Regions from separate parts of the Homo sapiens genome. Here region 1 is linked to region 2. The links are contacts of gene promoters, found by promoter capture Hi-C in blood cells and fetal thymus (Javierre and others, 2016). All regions are on one chromosome and are shown on one strand. The core of a region is centred on a gene start or on the middle of the fragment in contact, and the rest is flanking DNA. Distances in the headings are between cores, read along the strand shown.

Region 1 (4,382 bases), core at 1,870-4,369, 1.4 Mb after region 2:
CACATGGCACATGTATACATATGTAACTAACCTGCACATTGTGCACATGTACCCTAAAACTTAAAGTATAATAAAAAAAAGAAAAGTAAAAAAAACAAAAAACAACAACAAAAAAAAGAAAGGTAAGAGAAACAATTTAGGAAGTATATTGCCTACATTTTCTTATTTAAAATGTGCAAATACCCTTTGAGGAATGTGTTATAATTCCCATTTATCTGAAGAAGAAACTGAAGATCAAAAGTAACTACTTTTAAGGAAAAAGGAAGGAACAGAACTAAGTATAGCTGGCTCCAGAGCTCTCTCCTCTCCTCTACACTGTGAAATGGGCAAGTACACACTCAGTGCTCAGGAATGCTCGCTATTGTTGTACTGCTATTGGTGATGGTAACTCTCAAAAGAAGGTATATTAATAATTCTTTTTCTGATTATAAAAATAGCCTACACTTTTTATAGAAAATTTAGGTAATATTGAGCAGAGAGAAAATAACCGCGAACACTAATAATTCAAGCACTCAGAGATGTCCACTGTTAACAGTTTGGTGGTTGGTACTAGAAGTTAAGCTCCACAAGGGTGGCCATCTTTATCTATCTAGTTGAATGCTATATTTCAAGGGCCTAGAATCATGCCAGGGCCATATACTAAGGGCTCAATAAATATTGGCTAAATGCATGAGTAGATGGATAGCTTTGGAGTCTTTTTCATTTATGCATAAATGCATGTGTCCACATATAACTAGAATATATTTGCAAACTTGAATTTATATTCTACATGTAGTTTTTTTTATCCTGTTTGTTTCAAAGGCCATTGACTTTTTATATAAAAAGTGGACAGATTGATGGAGTATTCCGTCACTTTTTGGTGGACTGAGAAGGTGAACTAGGTTCACCTGTAGCCCTAGAATAATGTAAGTCTATTTTTATTTGTTTACAGAAAAAAAAAGAGCTCTAAACCTTAATTTCCTCACCTGCAAAATAAAGTAAGCTTACATGATCTCTAGGATTTCCTTCCATGATGTGGGATTTATATAATGAGAGAGACTTTATTCATAATATTTTACGTTTTCTTTACAGATGCTCTTAATAGTATTGAGAATTCCATTTATAGAACAGCCTTCAAATTACAATCAGTGCAAACTCTGTGCCAGTGTAAGTATAGGCTCTCCTGAAATATTTGAAATAATCTGAGCTTGATGTGCGATGTAAAATTCATAGAGAAAACAAACACTCCCCCCATGCAGCTGACTACTGGATTCTGGAAGTCTGGACTTGTGCATTTAGCCCATTCGTGACAGAGAAGATGGAGGATGGGAAAACATCACGTGCAGGCAAACCATGTGTAGTTTTGCTGATGAGCAATAGAAATAATTGTGCATGAGGATTTTTAATTTTTTAAATATTTTCTCCACTTGGCTTCTTCTAGAAAATGTTTTTGGTTTCCTTTTCAGGATACCAATATGGACACAAAATAAAATTGCAAAAAAAAAGTATTTTCAAAACTGCACTTATAGATTTAAGTATAAAAATATAAAATTCCATCTACCACGTAAGATTTGCATTTTCAAGTTGTACCTATAATCTATATATGAACATGCAAAAGTAGGTACAAATGAATAAATAACCCATGGACCATGAATTTTAAAACTATCTCGAGAATTCCCTGAGAACTGCCCCTTTTTGCAGTAAATTTATATCTGATTGAATGTATGGTTTTCTTTTCTTTTCTTTTCTCCTACTGTTATCTAGGCAAAATAAGGTAAAATGTTTTTACTAAAACATGTATCCTGTGAAAATTTTCCAAGGTGAAAAATAAACTGGGTCCAAGCTATGAAACACATCAGGCATTCAGCATATCTAAAGTTATTGATTTCTCACTGCATGAAAGAAAAATCACTTCACGTAAAATGATTTCTGAAATTTATCATATCAGACCTAAGAGAAGTTATGTTATATATATGACATTTCTACTGAAGGCTGACATTTAAAAATATTTTTCCTCCTGCCTAAAAAGTTATATAGGGCAGTGGTTTTCAAATTGGGCTTCACAAAATATATGTGAATGTAGGGTAGGGCAAAAAAGAGTTAGCCAGGTGGGAAGAGGAGTTGCAAGCAAGGTGGGACGATTCAAAGACCACATCCTCAGCAGGAACAACTCCATCCTTCTCTATTTTCCATACCGTGTTTGCTTGTATGTGTGTGTGTGTGTGTGTGTCTGTGTGTGTGTAAGCTGGGGTCTCACTCTGTCACCCAGGCTGGAGTGCAGTGGAGGGATCTCAGCTCACTGCAACCTCTGCCTCCCAGGCTGAAGCCATCCTTCCACCTCAACCTCCCGAGTAGCTGGGACCACAGGCGTGAGCCACCACACCCTGCCAATTTTTTGTATTTTTAGTAGAGACAGGGTTTCGCCATGTTGCCCGGGCTGGTCTTGAACTCCTGAGCTCAACTGATCTGCCCACAGTGGCCTCCCAAAGTGCTGGGATTACAGGCATCAGCCACCGCGCCTGGCCTTATACTGTGTTTCTGTATTAGGTTCCTTTGAAGAAGAAATTTTTGGTTTTAAAAACAGTTTTATGTAGATTACTGCTCTAGATAAAGAAACTCACTTATAACTATTATTTATTATTCCAGGAACAAACAAAAAGCTAAAAATTTACCCCCAATTATGCATTTTCCTGGAGAATTTCTCCCATTAGAGAAAGTTAGCAGCAATTGTTCACATGTCCCAGTCACGAATGCCTGAGTATGTTCCGTAGCGTAATTTGTGGATGCACAGTTTTCAACTTTTTGTTATCTCTGGCATCAGAAACAGTGAATATAAATAACACTCATGGGAAATATTAACAATACACAAAATCAGTGGTTGAAAAATGTTACCTAGAAAAGATATCCAAACAAAAATTTAAAAACAGAAAATCCCAAACACTGAGATAAAGCATAACATGAGCTCCAAATAGGAAGATCGGGGACACATCGCTGTATAAATCTTGTGGTGAGATTAATGGACACCACTATTATCTGGTTTGGTGTAATATAGAACTCTCAGCAGGAGATGAAATCGGCCTGTGTTCAGAATGCCTGGCTGAGGTGACAGGTTTTAACGATAAAAGAGTTTACAGCCTTCACCACCTGCAGCCAGGTTTTTATTTAAGTCACATTCTGAAACTTGTTCCTCTGTTCCTTAGACTCTCCTCTTAAAAGCAATATCAGAGAACAAATAAAAATTTTTATTATACTTGCTAGATTTCTTATCTGAGGTTGATTTACGAAGTAGAGAGAAACCCAGGGTTTTATGGTTTCACAGGCTGAAGCGTTTTAAATGCCAGGAGCTCTTGGCGCTCTTGATATCCCCACCTCTCAGATGGTGCAAGTGGCTGTTTATTAATTTTGTCTGTCATCCTCTCTCTGCAAGAAGCTATGGGGTTAGCTCTATTACATTCTTGTTTCTATTCATTGCCTTGTAAAAATTTTAGGAGAAGGTGGTTAAAAAATATTCAGTATAAGAAATAAACCATTATTTTTTGTAAGCAGCTGTAGTTTTATTAAGTGCCTTCTCTAGATAATAATACTGATGGAACCAAGATTGTTAACAGTGGTATTACTGAGTTGCAGAATTCTCAGACTCTTTAGCCTAAAGATCTTTACAGAAGAGTAACTGCTCTTTTATGAAGATCACTGTTTTGTATTTAACTACGGCAATTGCTTTTCAACACACCATATTGCTTCTGAAGCTGGGCTGCAGACAAGAAAAACTATATTTGAACAGGAAAGGTAAATTTATTCAATCCACTTAATGAAGAGTATAAAAATGTTTTCCCCAACTTTTTACCACAGTGTCATAACTTTCTTGGAAAGCGTATTTTTCGTTTCTCACTTCCCTTTTTAACTTCTTTCTATAAAACAACATCCTAGAAACTGTACTGGTAATAATGTTACAACTATGCTTTACTAACAGATGCACCTTTCCAAAATCAAATGAATCGCTAGAATAGTAACGCCTGAAGTATACACAAGGAATATATGTCCAAATAGTAGTCATATTTCATTCCCCTTAAAAGAAAATAGCGACCATAAAAAGTCTTAATTATAAAACACCAAATGACATTTGCTTTATTTGAAGCCTTTTGTTCCCATCAGAAAATAAGGCTCAATTCTTCATTTGCTTCCTACAGTGGACTTGATTGACAGCTCCCTGATTCAGCAGGTCCTACTGCGTCCAAGTTTCTGGGAAGCTCGCAAGCACTCCCTTTCTGTGCAGCAACTTTCTCAGGCACTCCAAGAGCTGTTTCAGAAGGCCAGGGAGGAAAACCCAGGACAAGTGCATCCCAGAGCTCCGGAACTCACTCTGAGCCTTCTCACGACAATGTACAACAGGTGAGGGTGTGGAC
Region 2 (4,259 bases), core at 692-3,191:
TTTGGAGGTCCCTTAGACCATTTCACCATTTGTCCACTTAAGTGACTGGGCTTTTCCAATGTTGCTTTTACCAACAATGCTGCAAAGAATAACATTGTACATATACGCTAATCCTGACATGCCATAATTTTAAAAAGATAGCGACCTAGAAGTGAGACTACCGGCTCATAGTGCAAGTTTATTTTATTTTATTTATTTATTTTTTGAGACATGGTCACACTCTGTTGTCCAGGATGGAGTGCAGTGGCACAAACCCAGCTCACTGCAGCCTCGACCTCACAGGCTCAAGCGATCCTCCCATCTCAGCCTCCTAAGTAGCTGGGGCTACAGGCGCGCACCACCATGCCTGACTAATTTTTTCACTTTTTTGTAGAGAAGGGGTCTCACTATGTTGCCAGGGCTGGTCTCGAACTCCTGGGCTCAAGTGACCCTCCCACCTTGGCCTCCGAAAGTGCTGGGATTACAGGTGTGAGCCACCACACCCAGCCACAAGTTTATTTTCCATTTCAATAGCCTCCAATTATTAGCCACTAGAGACTCTTAACTTCCTTGAGTTAGGATCCTTACCAATTTTTGAGCACCTACCATACGCCTGCTATATGTAGCAATGGGGATGAAGAAAACAATCAAAACAAAACAAAAGAAAAAGGTATTTCCCTACCACCGTAGAGCTCTATATAGAAAGAATACAAAAAAAAAAAAGCAGCCAGAAAATAAGAATTAAAATAATTTGTATTGCACATAGTTGGTGTTTAATTCATAAATACCACTTACAAAGATTTATGACTCAAAGACAAGACAAAGTACTTCCATGGGTTGACACAGGGCTGTAAGCAATTCTTTGAACATGAAAGAAGCTGGACACATAGGTCATATTCCACTCCAGTACTCTTCCCAGTCCATCAAACTGCTCTCTTCCAGGCCAATAAGTACTTTCTGAAGTCTTCCTCGAGTCCAACTTCTAGATTTTTATTCCTTCCTCTCCCTGCATCATTCCAGCCATAGCTCCCCTTTGTGTTCATGCAATTAATTTCGTCTGAGTCAAAGGCCTTGTGTACTCTCGCTCGTTCAGAGGGCAAAGGTGTATTCTAGATCCTACCAGAAATAAGTTTCTTAGGAATTTGGTTTTATTTTATAACAAGCTAAGAGATCATGTTTTTGTGTTTCAAACATATTACTTTTTCTAATTTCCTCAAACTTAGATATTTCCCTTTTTAGTTCTTTCTGAGATTAAGCATCTTAGAACTATTCTCTCTTTTGAATCACGGCACCACCTTTAGCTAAGAGAAAAACATCTAATTCTCAGCTACTTCCAGGCATAATTGCAACAAAATCAGACCCAATATTGAAGATTCACGTTTGCTGTGTGTTTTACCATAATAAAAGTTCGAAATTCTGTGAACTCTCTTAATAAAATGTTCCAATTTCTTACACCCTTTCATGATGACGTTCTCTTAAAGGACTAACTTGAAATTTTCAACATTCAGTTAAGCCCATTTCCTTCCTATTAACAATCAGTATTCAATATTGTGGCACGTAAGTAATACTGTAGTTCTGACAGATTAATTTATATTTGCCTTATTAAGAGTCGTTGCTTTTTTTGCTCCCCGACTTAAATTTTTTTTGTTTTTCCCCAATCTATACGAATAAAAGCGTGAACTATATGTGAAATAGCTGAAGCTCCACTTCCATTATAAATAGACAATGTCCCAAATTGCCGTTTTACAAACATTCTCAATAGCATCAGCCAGTGATAGCAATCCGAATACTCCAGAGAGAATGCGACCAAAACCCACAACAAGCCCCGTGGTCTAGCACAGCAAAGAGAAAAAAAGAGAACACGAAAATGCCCTTGCTCCCCTCCGGGGGCCCCTTTTGTGCGGTTCTTGCCAACGCAGCAGCCCTCCTGCTATATAGCCCGCCGCGCCGCAGCCCCACCCGCTCAGCGCCGCCGCCCCACCAGCTCAGCACCGCCGTGCGCCCAGCCAGCCATGGGGAAGGTGAGCCCAGCCTGCGCCCCGGGACCCCGGAGCTTCCTCCATCGCGGGGGCCAGAGACTGGGGCAGGAGCAGGCCTGTGAGACCTCGCCTTGTCCCGCCTTGCCTTGCAGATCACCCTCTACGAGGACCGGGGCTTCCAGGGCCGCCACTATGAATGCAGCAGCGACCACCCCAACCTGCAGCCCTACTTGAGCCGCTGCAACTCGGCGCGCGTGGACAGCGGCTGCTGGATGCTCTATGAGCAGCCCAACTACTCGGGCCTCCAGTACTTCCTGCGCCGCGGCGACTATGCCGACCACCAGCAGTGGATGGGCCTCAGCGACTCGGTCCGCTCCTGCCGCCTCATCCCCCACGTGAGTACATCCTCAAGTCAGGACCCAGGCCCTCAGGACACTCACTGGATGGTTTCAAGCAAAAGTTAAACATTAGAAGTAGTGATCAGTCACAATAACTGAGAGTGGACAAAAGATGAACTATAGTGGATTAAGTCAATAGAGTTTGCTCCCCACATAAGCAAAGTATTACCCAGACACCAGTTAATCACAATTAATCCACAAATATGTATTGAGTAGGAATGTGTCTCCTGCCCTAGGGGTTGTATAAGACTTAAGTCCTATTCTGGAATCATTTAGAATGGAGTTGTAGAAAAACCACTAATACCCAATAGAAGAATAAATGCTAGAGCGTACAGCAGTTACTGAGCAAACAGGGTAATTTCTTTTGAGACTTTTTCCCGTTTTTGCTCCTCTCTTGCATATTTTGGGTTTTCCCAACCTATATAAGTAAGACTTTCCTTCAAAGGAGAGCAACACACATATTTTACACATGTGTCCCTTTTATCCCATATGTGTGTTAGAACACTAAAGTTTATGCAAAATTCGTCCTTGGACTTACTGATGTTTCTTCCTCCATTTTTCTTCATTGCATTCACAAGTTATTGACTTAGAATTAATTGTTCTTTAATATATGAAGATATTTAACATTTTATATTTTAATATATTTTAAATATTTATATTTTAATATATTTAAAACACTTATATTTTGAATAGAAGGCTTATATATTTAACATATTTTATTTATGTCATTGATTTAAATGATGCATTATCATTTAATTCAATATATTAAATGATATATTTAATATATTTTAAATACTTATATTTAAAATACATATTTTTATATTTTAAATATATTTACATTAAATATATTTAATGAATATAATGTATTTAATAATATATTTATTTAATAAATATGTATTTAATATATTTATATAACTACATAAATTATATTATATTTTAAATATATTTAACATATTTTAAATATATTTTAATATATTTTTAATATATTTCATTTACATTATATGTGTGTATATATATATTTTTGTTGTTGTTGTTTTGTTTTTGTTTTTTGAAACAGAGTCTCACTCTGACGCCCAGGCTGGAGTGCAGTGGTGCAATCTCGGCTCACTGCAACCTCCGCCTCCTGGATTCAAATGATTCTCGTCTCTCAGTCTCCTGAGTAGCTGGAGTTACAGGAGCACGCCACCACACCCAGCTAATTTTTGTATTTTTATTTTTATTTTATTTTATTTTATTATTTATTATTATTATTTTTTTTGACGAAGTCTTGCTCTGTTCCCCACGCTGGAGTGCAGTGGCATGATCTCGGCACACTGCAACCTCTGCTTCCTGGGCCCTAGCAATTTTCTTCCCAAGTAGCTGGGATTACAGGCACCCGCCACCACACCTGGCTAATTTTTGTATTTTTAGTATAGACAAGGTTTCGCCATATTCGTCAGGCTGGTCTTGAACTCCTGACCTCAAGTGATCCACCTGCCTCGGCTTCCCAGGGTGCTGGGACTACAGGCATGAGCCACTGCCCCACCCCTTATATTTCTGTATTTTAAATATATTTTATTTATATTTTAGTAAAGTTATTTTAAAATAAAATATAATTTGTAAAATAAATATAATTTTAATTTATACTTATAAAATATAATTTGAATATAATTATTAAAATAAAATATGATTAACTTTAAATAAAATATAATTTTATACATTTTATAATATATTTTAAATATAGTATATAATTAAATATGTATTAGATATCATATGTATATTAAAATTATACATTATTTAAATATATTTCTTTATAATTTAATGTTTATTTTAATATTAAAACATTTCTTCAAAATGGTATAAAATAGTAATAAGCTGTTACAGGTTTGGATTTGCATGTGGTACAGGATACTGAGCCTAGGAG

The links. The method cuts DNA at HindIII sites, captures the fragments that hold promoters and counts their contacts. A CHiCAGO score of 5 or more calls a contact.
Region 1: a fragment that was not itself captured here is called in contact with the fragment with the promoter of CRYGD in region 2 in 2 of 17 cell types (neutrophils and total CD4 T cells); the score reaches 6.7 in neutrophils.

Annotation. Positions count from the first base shown.
Region 1 is chr2:206,707,288-206,711,669 of GRCh38, reverse strand. It overlaps DYTN (dystrotelin), which reads left to right. Exons shown (of 12, transcript NM_001093730.1): 2 at 1,072-1,146; 3 at 4,167-4,368. Among named protein-coding and RNA genes, the nearest start is that of DYTN, 8.9 kb to the left of the region's middle. The HindIII fragment of the contact is 4,270 bases long and covers 985-4,382 here.
Region 2 is chr2:208,122,206-208,126,464 of GRCh38, reverse strand. It overlaps CRYGD (crystallin gamma D), which reads left to right and starts at 1,941. Exons shown (of 3, transcript NM_006891.4): 1 at 1,941-2,000; 2 at 2,111-2,353. The coding sequence starts at 1,992. The region is part of intron 1 of LOC100507443 (a long non-coding RNA gene); the gene reads right to left. The HindIII fragment of the contact is 13,257 bases long and covers 1-4,259 here.